3 separate regions of the Homo sapiens genome follow, and regions 1 and 3 are each linked to region 2. Evidence: promoter capture Hi-C in human tissues and cell types (Jung and others, 2019). All regions are on one chromosome and are shown on one strand. Each heading gives the region's core, a stretch centred on a gene start or on the middle of the fragment in contact. The rest is flanking DNA. Distances are from core to core; before and after follow the strand shown. Region 1 overlaps GLRA1 (glycine receptor alpha 1). Region 2 holds the start of GLRA1 (glycine receptor alpha 1). Region 3 overlaps LINC01933 (long intergenic non-protein coding RNA 1933).

What was found. Contacts are between HindIII fragments. The study calls those that stand out against the background at their distance.
Region 1: a fragment that was not itself captured here is called in contact with the fragment with the promoter of GLRA1 in region 2 in 1 of the 25 tissues and cell types used here (H1 embryonic stem cells).
Region 3: a fragment that was not itself captured here is called in contact with the fragment with the promoter of GLRA1 in region 2 in 1 of the 25 tissues and cell types used here (H1 embryonic stem cells).

Annotation. Positions count from the first base shown.
Region 1 is chr5:151,885,928-151,890,279 of GRCh38, reverse strand. It overlaps GLRA1 (glycine receptor alpha 1), which reads left to right. Exons shown (of 9, transcript NM_000171.4): 3 at 3,492-3,559. Among named protein-coding and RNA genes, the nearest start is that of GLRA1, 37 kb to the left of the region's middle. The HindIII fragment of the contact is 8,525 bases long and covers 1-4,352 here.
Region 2 is chr5:151,922,632-151,927,141 of GRCh38, reverse strand. It overlaps GLRA1 (glycine receptor alpha 1), which reads left to right and starts at 2,291. Exons shown (of 9, transcript NM_000171.4): 1 at 2,291-2,648. The coding sequence starts at 2,593. RefSeq lists a silencer at 1,799-2,011. The HindIII fragment of the contact is 3,327 bases long and covers 160-3,486 here.
Region 3 is chr5:151,973,979-151,978,535 of GRCh38, reverse strand. All of the region lies in intron 1 of LINC01933 (long intergenic non-protein coding RNA 1933), which reads right to left. Among named protein-coding and RNA genes, the nearest start is that of LINC01933, 17 kb to the right of the region's middle. The HindIII fragment of the contact is 5,852 bases long and covers 293-4,557 here.

The DNA of each region.
Region 1 (4,352 bases), core at 1,803-4,302, 38 kb after region 2:
AGAAAAGCCCCAGTAAACCTTCATAAATGAATGAATAAATAAATGACCCCACAAATATGCTAGGGCTTAGAGCAGTTAAGTGACTTTTTCAAGTCATGCTGTCAAAACCAGAGACTTTAACCCAGTTACTCTAACTTAATTCTTTGTCTAATAATAGTGATTTATTTATTTGTTCATTTATTTATTTACTTACTCAGCAGTGGGCATTTTTAAGAAATAAAATTTTATCCTGACCACTGAATCAAGGTCCGTCCAACCTTCCCACTCTGAGAAGCTTACTCGGAACACTTGGGCCCAATATCTACAGAACTAGTTCATCTTTTAGGCCCGTCCCAACCCTGCAACTAGCCTTAACTCCCTCGACCCCCACCTGACTGAGAATGAGGTGCAGCTTCCTGGAGCCCCACCGCAGGAGCTGAGAAGTTTTCTCTGCCCTCCTTTGTACTGAGGCCTGAAAAATTGCTGAGAGGATTTTCTTGCCCTGAGCCCTTTGATGCCTTTCCTGCTTCCACCGACACAAATCAGATTCCCTAAAACCCCATACAAACCATAGAGCTCCTGAAAAGGCCATTGAGGATCAGGGCCCCTATGACTCCAACATGATAGAAAGAGGTCTGCATTGTTTAAAACCTCTACGGAGGGATCCATCACTCAGCAGCTGCCTTAGGTGCTAGAAATTTTCCCTGCTCCTGACCCTCGTGAAAACACAGGTAGCCAGGAATGGCAAGCACAGTCTGCAGAGTACAATGGCAAAGAAACTGTGAGGTAGAAGTAAAGGGCACTAAAACAGCATTCCAGTCCTCCCTCTACTTACCTGACAGGCATGACCCCAAATGAGTCACTTACTGTATCTCAGCCTCTGTTTCTGCATCTGTAAAATGATCCAGCAGGACTAGGCCATTCCAGCTCTGTTATTCTGTGTCTTCTTTATGACTTTGTGTATTATAATGGCTCCTAGGATTAGGGGCACAGCCCAATGCAAATACATACAAAAAAGCAAAATTAAACTTTAACATTTAGTGAAATATATACATTATCCTGCTGCCAAAGGCAGCTAAATTGTAATTTTCTCAAAGATAATTTAATTTCAGATTTATTTCAATGAACCGCACCTTCCCATAGGATCCTTTTGGCCAGTGTCCTCTCGCACACATAAATCAGAAACTAATTTATATGGGAGTCACAGTGCCAGACACTTGCAGGGACTGGGTGGGAACTCTGTGCACATCATTTCAAGGCATAGGCAGTAACTCCTTGGGGTATCTTAATGGCATGAGGCAACAACAAAAAAAACCTGGTCTGAGTCTAAATAAAGGAGAAAAATCCTGACCATTCAAGTTTTTTCCACCTGAGCTTTATTTAGGTGGAAGTGACAAGGAGGCAGACTTCCACTCAACACAAGGACAAAAAAATTTAGCAGACAGAGCTATCCAACTATGGAAAGGGCTGCTTAAGACAAAATGAGTTTCCCACTGCTGGAAGTATTCAGGCACTCAGCCTTGAATGGGTAGCTGGTCTACAGCAGTGGTCCCCAAACCTGGCTGTGCATGAGACTCACCCAGGTAGCTCTCTGAACACTAGACTCTTGGGCTAACCTCCAGAGATTTGGTTTTACTTAGTGTGGGGTTGGGCCAAAGAATCTGTAGTTTAACAGGTTCCCAGATGATTCTTCTGCAGATAACCCTGTCTGCACTTCAGTTTGGGAAGAAATTGATGAGGTGACCTTTAAGAAACCTTCCAGCCCTAAAATCTTACAACCCTGAAATGTAAATGGATAGCTTCCATAAAGGAATTCCAAACCACTGAAGCTGAGAATGACCGCCTAGATCAAGAGCTACTTACTCTCTCTCCAGATTGATGAGGAAATTGAGGCCCAGGACAGAGAAAAGGCATGGCCGAGGTAAACAACCAGTGAGTGCTGGAGTTATGTCCAAAACCCAGAAATCCTGATAATCCCTTGAAGGAAAAACCTAGTTTCTCATCCCAAGACTGAGTCCCCTCCTATATGCCAAGACTTCTGATCCTAGCTTAGTTTGAGCAAAATGCTTGGGCTACTTTTTCAAGAGGGACAGAATGCAATGGGTGCCAGAGGGCATAAGGACATATCTACTTTCTTCTTTCCACAATCAGAAAACTTTGGTTCAAGTCCTGGTTCTACCACTTGTTAGTTGAATGAGCCTAGGTGAGTTACTAAAACTCTTGGTGCTACCTTTGTCAAGTAGGAACAAGAATTCTGCCCTGTCTACCTCAGTACCTCATAGGAATCAAGAAAGTGGACCTGAAAAGCAAATCACAAATTGCAAATTACAATCTTTATGTGAAGGGCTGTGACCATTTATCCAAGTCCTATTCACCTTCAAAGTCATCTCCAGGCCACCACCTTTCTGAGGTCTTTCGTGCCTTATTCTCCAGAACTTCTCTCACCTGGACTCCTGCTGCTTTTACCACTCTTACCCATGGTCTTGCATTTCTCTTTGGTTATTTTATGTCAGCCCTTTTTGTCAGCTTATTTGGAAACCCAGTGCTGAAAATTCTGGACTCTGCCACTGTCTGTGTGATCGTGAGCATGCCCCTTCCTTCCTCTAAACCTGTTTCCTACAGAATAGCCATTAAGATGAGCACCCTTGGAGTTAGACAAATCTGAACTCAAACTCTGACTCACCCATTTACTAGTTATGTAGGCATGAACAAATAGCTTCTCTGAGCCTCTGTTTTCTCTCCTGTAAAATGAAGGTAATAACCATACCTTCTCCTGGAGTTGTTGAAATGATGAAATGAAATGATGTTAATAATACTCTCAGCACAGCAGGAACCCCCGTAATGTTTAGTAAATGGCAACTGCTATAATTAATACTATAAAGTGAAGAGATTGGGCTTCAATGAGACAACATCTCCTCTAGGAATGAGACAGCAAACCAGTGAATAATCCTCCATTTCTTTCCTACGCTTTGCAGTAGGATTCAAAAGACTTGCTCAGAAAGTATTTAACAAAGTCTGTGGACTTCCCCTGAGGTTCCTTCTGGATTCCTCAGCTGGTAATTCCCATCAATGCCTTTCAGACAATCATTCTTGGTTCATAAGTTGAAGGCAAGGAGCTTGCTGTTCCTTGTAATTCCCAAGATGGCCTCCAAATGTTGTAGACATAAATATATTTCAGCCACTAATTTGTGGCTGAAAGGCAGCCAATGGGACTTGGGGAAGGAATTTCAACCATATGGCGGCTGATGAATCATCCTGTGTTAATGAAAGTACATCTCAGCTCAGCCTCTGGTATTCTGTACCTGGTGCTCACTTGGGGACCAGGAAGTCTGGCATAGAGATGTTAAATGGTGGCTGGGAATCCCAGGTGCTTGGGGGTGGGGTGGAGAGCAAGCAAGGATCTCCTCCACCAAAGGCGATCCATTCCAGAAGTCAGTGTTCTGGGAATGAGTCCTACCCTGTGGGTTCTTCCATGGCCTTGGGGCTAAGCAGGAATCTCTCTTGATTGGCAGGTCCCCCAGTGAACGTGAGCTGCAACATTTTCATCAACAGCTTTGGTTCCATTGCTGAGACAACCATGGTGAGTAAGTCAAAACACAAGCTGTTAGTTCCTGCTGGAGATATCTCTCCATGAAATATTTATCCTCTGCATTGGTCTCCACCAAGGAAGTGGGGAATCAGCTGGGTTTTTCTCAAGTCTCCAGTGGTATACCATGAGGCTCGGATGTCTTTACTGTCACATTAAATGTTTTGAGTGAATACATAATATCTGAAAATAGCCAAAGACCTAGCAGGGCAAGCACCTGCCAAACACCCAGGATTACAAAAACAAAATTATACAACAAGTCAAATTTTTAGAGTAAAAGAAAATGTGAAGACCTGTTTTTAAGTTTAACATTCAACTGCAGAATGGCAGAAGACTGCTGGTTATACAAGCTGAAATGGGTATATTGGGTTAATTGTATATTTCCTCTACTGTTGAATACATTTAAAACTTTTCACAGTAAAAAAGTTTAGAATGAATCTATTACACTAGAAGAAATGCCTAGGAAAAAAAATACCAAAATTGTAAGAATGATTATCTCTGAATTAAAAAGTTATGAATAATTTTTATTTTCTTCCTACAGTATTTATATATTTTTCAAATTTCTGCAAGGGGTGAATATTATATTAGTAATTATGAATAAGTGTAATGATATTTTAAAACTTTTCTCAGACTTTTTGTTTTTGTTTTTTCAACAGAAAAATCAATTGTACTTATGTTAAGGAAGTGATCTAGCTTGTGAAAAAAAATAATCAGGGCAGCCTAAAGTTAACTCTAATCTATCCATTTCGGAACATCCACCCGCCCCTAATCTAGTTCAGGCTTCCAT
Region 2 (4,510 bases), core at 1,042-3,541:
CTGCATCACACCTGGCTATGCAGGTATTTCCTAGTCAGATGAGGAACCAGGACAAAATTGCCAGCTTACGGCTTGTTTCAGTACTTCTAGGACCACCACAAAGACACACATAGATACATACACATCTATGTGTATGTAGAGAAAGACCCATTTACAAATACAAACGTACAAATACACATATGCATATCAAAATCACTTCAGAATTAGGCACGATACAAATCATAAATAAATTTGTATACACAGTAACCTACAAGCTGGTTTTGCCCTAGCATACTCACAAATGTACACAAACACATACGCAAAGATAATACTTACCTCAAGGTTTGACTGTGAAAAGTAAATGAGATTATGTGAATTCACAGTAATTTCTGACACATAGAAACCATGCTAATAAAGGTTAGCTCTTGATTACATATATAAAAATACATATATTATACATTATATTTAAATTTGTATCCAACTCATATTAATATACACCTTCAAAACAAAATTTCCTTTTCAGTCACTATGCAGAATATCATGGAAATTCTAGACTGTGGGAGCCAATAACAGAACCGGTAGTGTGGGGTATGCTATTGTAGTACAGGGGGAGGGGAGGGGAAATCCTACTGGTAAGAGGCTAGTAAACAAGACTTTTCAGATCCTTTCTGCTTGGGAGAAGGCCTAGCCTTGGAGGGAGCTGAGCTGATGAGTATTCTTGGGAGATCAGCCAAAGGAGTTTCTAACGTTATTGGGTAAGGAGGAGGGGTTGTCCTCTCTCAGTAGCCTTGGGCGAGAGAGTCCCCAGAGTCCCAATGAGTTCAAATCAGCCAGAAAATCCTTTAAAGTATTTATCCTATAGTCCCACAGCTTGGGGAAAATCTGATTAACTCCATCTCACCAGATGGGCTTTACAGTGAAATGTATAGCTGGTTTCTAAGATTCAAATAAGGTGGGAAAACAGAGGAAGAAATAACGAAATGTGAGTCATAACACATCCCTGTGTGTACAACTTGGCTCTGCCATCAATTTGGAGCAAGCCACAGCTCTGTGAGGCTCAGTTTCCCCAGCATATAAAAGGCGAATAAAACTGTCTCCTGTCCAGTTGGAAGAAGGTGCTTTTATTCCCTCTCAAAAGGGTGCCAGCCACAACACCTCCCACTCAACGCTGGAAACTGCTCAAAGAATTTCTCTCGTATTTCCCTGCTGCGGTGACCCTGGAGGGGGTCTTTATCCACCAGACTTCTTTTTGGATATTCCTCCTTTCTTTCTAGGGCCAAATATTATAACTTCAGAGCTCTTTTAAAAAAAATCAGGGATCTGGTTCAACTCTTCCCTTTTAAAAGGATAAATTGAGCCCAGAGCACGTCTTAACAAGGAACCATGTGTTTTACTCACATACAACTGCATTCTTTAAAAATCAAGGCAACCTTTTGAGAGACCTAGAGAGATTAATTCCATATCCTCTCTCACCCCACCGCTTACACGGAAAGAAGCTTGGGGGTAGGAAGGGGATTGCGCAGATCTCGTCCAGCACTCTAAGCGTTAAATTCAACCCGGAGTCTAACAGGCTATTGGCCGAATACCGGGAGAAGATCTGGTTTTCGTAGCCGCGGGCCAATGAACACCTCGAGTGGGAGGGTTTGAAGATACTAAGGAGTTTTCCCCCTTTTTTTTTCCCCCTCAACCCCCTCCCATCGGCTATCACCCCTCCCATCCCCCACGCCTCCAGTTTGTTAAATTAATGCAGTAAGAAAGTCTGAAGATCTGAAGGAGTCTTGACCAAGGGAAGATGAGCGAGCTCAGAAAACCGAGATGCATCTGAGACATTGGGCTTCAGAGCCCCGCGGGGTAGCCAGGGACCCCGGTAGCCCCTGAAACTTGCCCTGGGCTCTCTGACGCCTGCGGCCCCGAGCAATGGGACACCTTTTCTGCAGTGATCACAACTTATTCGGCGGGGACCGGGAAACAGGAATAGCAAGGCGACAGCAGACCCGCACAGAGGCAGGAGAACGAGATTCCGAGACTGGATTGCGATGCGCCAGCCTGGCACACTCTCCGAGATTTAACTGAAGGCAGCGCCGTCAACCGCTTTCCCCTCGCCCCTAACCCCCTCAGGCCGGCCCAGAGCCATAAAGCTCTGTTCTCTTTACCCAAGATGCTCGCCCAATCCAACGGTCCGAGGCCAGCGCTCTGATCTCCACAGAAGATTTTTTTCCTTGCAGGGAGCTGGCCGTTTAAACAGAAAAACAGGGGTTTAAAAAAAAAAAAAAAAAAAAGGAAATATACCCACCCCCAAACGTGCCTCCCCAGCGCCGCAGGGAGCCAACAGACACGCTGGAGTTTAACAAACAGCAATACTCTTCGCGCTCCTGAAAAGCAGGTCTGGACGCTCTCCGTGGTGCTGAAACGCCTCGCAGCCGCCGCTGTCCGTGGTATCTACGACCCCCTCGCTCCAATTTCCCCTGGGGCTCTCCCTCCGCGCCCCTGTTCCCCGCCTCCCTTTAACATCTGGATTATTTTTTGCAATAGCGCTTTCTGGTTTTGTAAGTGCCAATTTGAAACATTTTTGCCCCCATAACTCGTGGACTACAAAGCACAAGGACCTGAAAAATGTACAGCTTCAATACTCTTCGACTCTACCTTTGGGAGACCATTGTATTCTTCAGGTATGCAATTTTCTACTGACCACATCGCTCTGATGGAAATGGGGGGAAAGAGTACGGAGGCTACCTCTGTCCGTGGTCCCATCATTTTGGGGAAGAGGGGTGCTGTATTCCACTGCAATCGGGTCCTTCCATCCCCCGTCTCCCTTCTCCCCCCTCCCACCCCCCGCCACCCACCCCACCCCCGCCCGCAGGGTGTCTGGCTTGTGCGTGGAGGTCTGAGACAGTCGCTGTTCTGGCAGCTGTTTGCCTGTTTCTTACGGTTTGTTTGTCCTTCTGTCTGCTACACCCCCCACTATTGGTCCCCAGCCCCACTGCATGTTGGCTTTCACTCGGCTGAGGACTTTAAAGGGAAGCTTTAGGAGTTACTCAGTTTAATTAGGACTGCATTCTCCCTAACCGCAGTGCCGAAAACCTCAGCTTTCCCGTCTGGGAGCCAAGTGACAACTAGCGGTGACGGGGAAGGTTGCACTCAAACTCGCTGGACACAGATCATTTCATTTTCTGTCCTTTTTTGCTGTTGTTTTCTTTTTCTGCGAAGAGGGAGGGGGATTACTAAGGCTGAGTGCTTGGAAACAATAGTATTATAACCTCAGTGTGTAAAGCCCTGAACTTGGGTGCAGAGTGGATCTATTTAGGAACATACTGGGAAACATTTCCCTTTTGAAACTTTGACTGCCTCTTTCCCCAACCCACCTTTCCAAACTCTGTTAGCTGCAGATCCTGAACTCATGAGCAATCTTCATTTGCTTTGTTTTTAAATTTATGCTTATATTTGACTCAACAGCTGAGTTATCCCATCCACTGTCTCTCAGGTTAAAATTTTCTGCCTGAAGACTTGTCTTTCTTATGTTAGTAGAAGTGAAAAGTGAAAAATCACCTCTTTAAGAAGCATTGAAATAGATAGTCCTTTAGTAAGTGTGTGAATCATACCATCTTCAGAGATGGCTATGATAAATTCCACTTATATGAATTGAAAAACATTATTCTTCTTCCATGACATGCAGGGATCATTAATCTTCCTCATTTTAGATGCCTGCCTCTCATATTTTACTGTGGCATTGGATTAACAGTCATTTGAAAAACCCACCCCAAATTGTTTTTAAAAATAAGTGGTCACCAAATATTACCCTCTCCCAACATAAAACAGCAAATAATTTTTGTTTTATTACAGTTCATAGGAATTGCTGATTTGACTAATCTGTTGGCTGGTTTATTAAATGACACCTCCCCTCAAATAGTAAGTTTCTGTATTTCAGTCTCTTTTCATGTCTCTTGAGATGAAGAAAAGGCATCCCCCCTTATCTGAGATACCCAATGCTAAAGCTTCTAATCTCCTGTTCAAACAATTATTTTGTAGGCCACAGAGTCCTGACCACAGATCAGACTGCAAATAGTCAGAGAGTCAGATAGAATGAAAAAGTACAACAATCCAGGGCCTTATGAAACGTATCAAAATGTGGCTACTTTATGGGGGAAAGGGCAGGAAGTATTCTATTTATAATATGAGATCCTTTATCCCCTGCATATTTAATAGAACTACAAATGTATGGAGGTTGGGTACTTTGTAACATTTGTATGCAAATTGATTCTCTGCTTGGTCTACAGGAGACAGAACTGAACCAGAGAGATTTAAGAGCAAATTAATAGAACCAAGCACATCTTTCTCCCCACACACACTCTCTCTTTTTTTCTTGATGAGCAGTATGCAATGCTTGATTTTCCTCTCCAGACATTGTCTTTCACAAAAGGGAGACTCAGTCTAAAAGGTCTGGATTGTAGTCATTTTGATAAGGTTATGAATCCACTGTGTTAATTCTTCAACTAAGCTGGTGGTGGCCTAACAGAAAACATCATTCTACATC
Region 3 (4,557 bases), core at 1,969-4,468, 50 kb before region 2:
ATACTACTCAGCCATAAAAAGGAATGAATTAACGGCATTCCCAGCAACCTGGATGAGATTGGAGACTATTATTCTAAGTGAAGTAACTCAAGAATGGAAAACGAAACATCATATGTTCTCACTGATATGTGGGAGCTAAGCTATGAGAATGCAAAGGCATAAGAATGACACAATGGACTTTCAGGACATGGGGGGAAGGGTAGGAGAGGGGCGAGGGTAAAAGACTACAAATACGGTACAGTGTATACTGCTTGAGTGATGGGTGCACCAAAATCTCACAAATCACCACTAAAGAACTTACTAATGTAACCAAACACCACCTGTACCCCAATAAGCTATGGAAAAAAAAACAAAAATAAAAAATAAAATGCTTAACATCATTAATCATGAGGGGAAATGAAAATCAAAACCACAGTGAGATATCATCTCACCCCAGTTAGAATGACCATTATCAAAGAGACAAAAAATAACAAATGCTGGTGATGATGCAGAGAAAGAGAAACTCTTACTATTGGTAAAAATGAAAATTCTTATGTTATATAAATTCTTATGGAATTTCCCCCATTAAGGAAAACAGAACAGAGGCTGCTTTAAAAACTAAAAATAGAACTACCACATGATCCAGTTATCCCACCACTAGGTATACATACAGAGAAAAGGAAATCAGTATGTTGAGGAGATATCTGACCTCCTATGTTTATTTCAGAACTATTCACGATAACCAAGATATGAAATCAACGTGCATCCATCAGCAGATGAATGGACAAAGAAAATGTGGTATATATACATAATGGAATACTATTCAGTTATTTTAAAAGAATGAAATACTCTCATTCATCATGGCAACATGGATGAGTCTGGAAGACATGTTAAGTGCAGTAAGCCAGTCACAGAAAGATAAATAACCACATGTTCTCACTCATATGTGGAAGCTAACAAAGTTGATTTCACATAAGTAGAAAGTAGAATAGTGGTTACTAAAGACTGGGAAGAGTAGGGGTGCAGGGAAACAGGGATACGTTGGTTAATGGACAAAAATTGCAGTGAGCTAAGAGGAATAAGTTCCAGTGTTCTCTAACATTGTGGGATGACTACAGTCAACAATAATTTATTGTATATTCTCAAATAGATAGAAGATTTTGAATGTTCCCAGCACAAAGAAATGATAAATATTTGAAGTGATAGATATGCTAACTCCCCTGATTTGATCATTATATAGTATATACATGTTCAAAATATCACACTGCTTTCCATAAATATGTTCAATTATTATGTGTCAATTAAAAGTAATACTAATACATTTTCTTTACCTATGGAAAAAATAACCAAAACATGTGACAGAGAAAAATACATTTAAAAGATCAGAAAAAAATTCAACCATTTTAGTAAATATCAAGAAACCATGAAAATTAACATTCTATTTTTATTAATCCTTAGATTTACAAATTGATTTATTAATCCCAAAAACTCAGTTTATTTCATTTGCCCAAAAATTTCCTTTATGTCTCACTCTCAGAAAAGAAAATTTACTTTCTAATAGACAATTCACATTAGAAAAATAAATAAGACCGTTATAGACATTCAGAAATAAATATAAATCAGTTTAACAACTCTCTTACATGGCAAAAAAAAAAAAAACTCTCAAAATGAGTGACTTCCCACAACACACACACATGACTAAATTTCATACTATTGAAAGGAGATATCTCTAAAACCAAGTAACCCATACCAAAGGAAAAAAAAAGTGCAAAAGTTAGAGAAATGGAGAAAGACATGACAGACCACCTAAACATTAGGAAATCAGGTTCACAATAGTATTATGTGAAAAGTAGAAAAAGTTTTAAAAAGAAGCCTTAGCCGGGCACAGTGGCTTACAGGTATAATCCCAGCACTTGAGGAGGCCAAGCAAGGCAGGTGGATCACTTGAGTTCAGGAGTTCGAGACCAGCCTGGGCATCCTGGTGGAACCCTGGCACTACAAAAATACAAAAATAAGCCAGGCATGGTGGCACCCACCTGTGGCCCCAGCTACTCAGGAGGCTGAGGTAGGAGAATCACCTGAGTCTGGGGAGGTCAAGGCTGCATTGAGCTGTAATTGCACCACTACACCCCAGACCGGGTGACAGAGTGAGATCACACCTCAAAAAAAAATTTTTTTTAATTAAACAAATAATAATATAAAGGATAAAATGCATAATGAAAAATATTAGTTTTTTATTAACCAAGAAATTTCTTTGAAATATATAAATTACGTTACATAGATATTGAGGAGAAAAGATTAGCAGTGAGATAATTAAATACATCTAAATCTTTGACTGGAAAGGTGAACAAAAATTAAGACAAAAGGATGCAAATAACATAAACTAATTATGTTGATTTAACAAACTAGATACTCTACAATAAGGGAATATATCTTCCTTCCAGCACTCATAAAAGTCATAAAAATCTGTCATTTATTAAGCCACAATGAATACCTCAATATGCTGCAAAAATAAATGTACAGATCACGTTTCAGAGCATAATGCAATAAAATTTGAAATTAAAGTTTCAAGTTTTAATATATCGACTTCTTAGAAATTATTAATGTTCTCCTGAATAACTTTTGAAAGTGGAAATCAAAATCCTTATTACAAATTATTTCAAGAATAATAAAATTTGAGGCTACTACATTCCAAAATATATGTGAGGTGGTCAAAGCTATATGTATATTAAAATTTAAAACTTTATGTGTCATTACTCAACAAGAAAAAGTGGAAATAAATGTAAGAATTGAAGACAATATTAGAAAAATAATAAACTAAGATAAGCAAAAATTAACAAATCAAAAAGCAAAAAATTAATGAATTGTTAAGTTACCCAAATAACCATTAAATGTAAATGTTTAAAAATACCTATAGAATGCCTAACAGAGGAAGAGACTGAAGCAAATTAAAAATATTGGAAATAAGAATAATTTTTTTACTATAAAGAATACTGTGCATAACTCCAGGCTAATAAATTTGAAAAATCTCATTGAAATAGTTTCTTTTCTAGGAAAAAGTAAGTTAAAATTTACTCAGACACATTGAAAACTTGACTATTTAAATAGCAGAAAAAAAAACAAATAAAATTTCAACCCACATCTTGTATTATATGCCAAAATTAATTTACAATAGGTTAAAAAATTAAAGTTAAAATGTAATTCTTAAAAGAAGAAGAAAATGTATGAATTTTTTAACTTAGATTGTATCAACAATCCTACATATAAGTAAATGCAGAATCCATAAAGGAAAAAACATCTACAGATTTGACTATACTGAATTAGAACTTCAGTATAAAAAAGGCTTTGGAAAGCAAATTTTTAAATTGGAAAAAAGCAGTTTCGATACACATGACAGAAAAAGGTATACTCTTAATATAACAAGAATAAGAAATGGACAATCATTAACAGAAATAAAAATGGCAAAAAATAAAAATAAAATGTTAAACTTCTCTAGCATGCAGCAGGTAAATTCAAATGAAAGTAAGATATTTGCTGCTACTAAATTGATCTTTCAGATGAGAATTCCAGGTTTTAGCAGGAGTATGGAAAAATTGATGCTCTCTACAAAAAATAAACATGTAATTTAAAAAAAATTGTATCCTTTCTGGAAGACAATTTGCCCATTTATATTGGAAGCCTGAAAATGTACATATTCTTTAATCCAACAACTCTACTTGTAGAAATTTATCCTAATTAAATGGGTATGTAAAACTATTTAGAGGGATGTTCATTTCAGTTTTTTAAAACATTGTTTATATTGTGATATATTCAAATGAATTTTTCAAGAATTATATAGAATACTAAATGTCATTTAAAAATTTCATTACGGATTAAGTTTTTAAAGCCCATTTTTAAGAAAAGAGCATCTCAATTATAATTGTATATATTATAATCTTCTCAAAACATGTTATACATTCAGATTCCCAGGCCTACTTCCAGACATACTGAATTAGCCCAAGAGTGGGATTCAGGGATCTGCATTTGTAACACGTTCTATATATAAAGATCTGTATATGATAGAGAAATAAAGACTGAAAGTATATACAGCATGTTTATTTCTGAGTAGAAAGGCAATAATTTTTCTGTGTTCATAATTTGCATGTTTTATATTTTCCATAATGAAATAAAAGTGTTACATTTCTCAATTTAAAAATTACATTATTTAATGTAAATTAACAACACACAGTGGTTTATGGCAAATCAGATAAATAAACCTTAACAACCAGGGATCTGAGTAGTTTGTAGAGAAAAATAATTAAGACAGAGAATACAAACTGGTAGCCCACAAGGTATAAAACATCTTTAATCCAGATGATGTTTAACTGTTTTAAAAGTAATCACCCACATTTAAAAACAGGGAGCTTTCCCTTAATAAATACTAACTGCCATCTTCTTTTGAAAAAAATGAGATCTGACCACACTGGGCCCAGATGGCAATAACTGATTGGGGTAGAGGGGCTCCTCTTTAGATGTCCAAGGGCTCTCCAGTTTACTGTTCCCCACCACTCCCTAGTATCCTCCCAAAGCTGAGGTCAA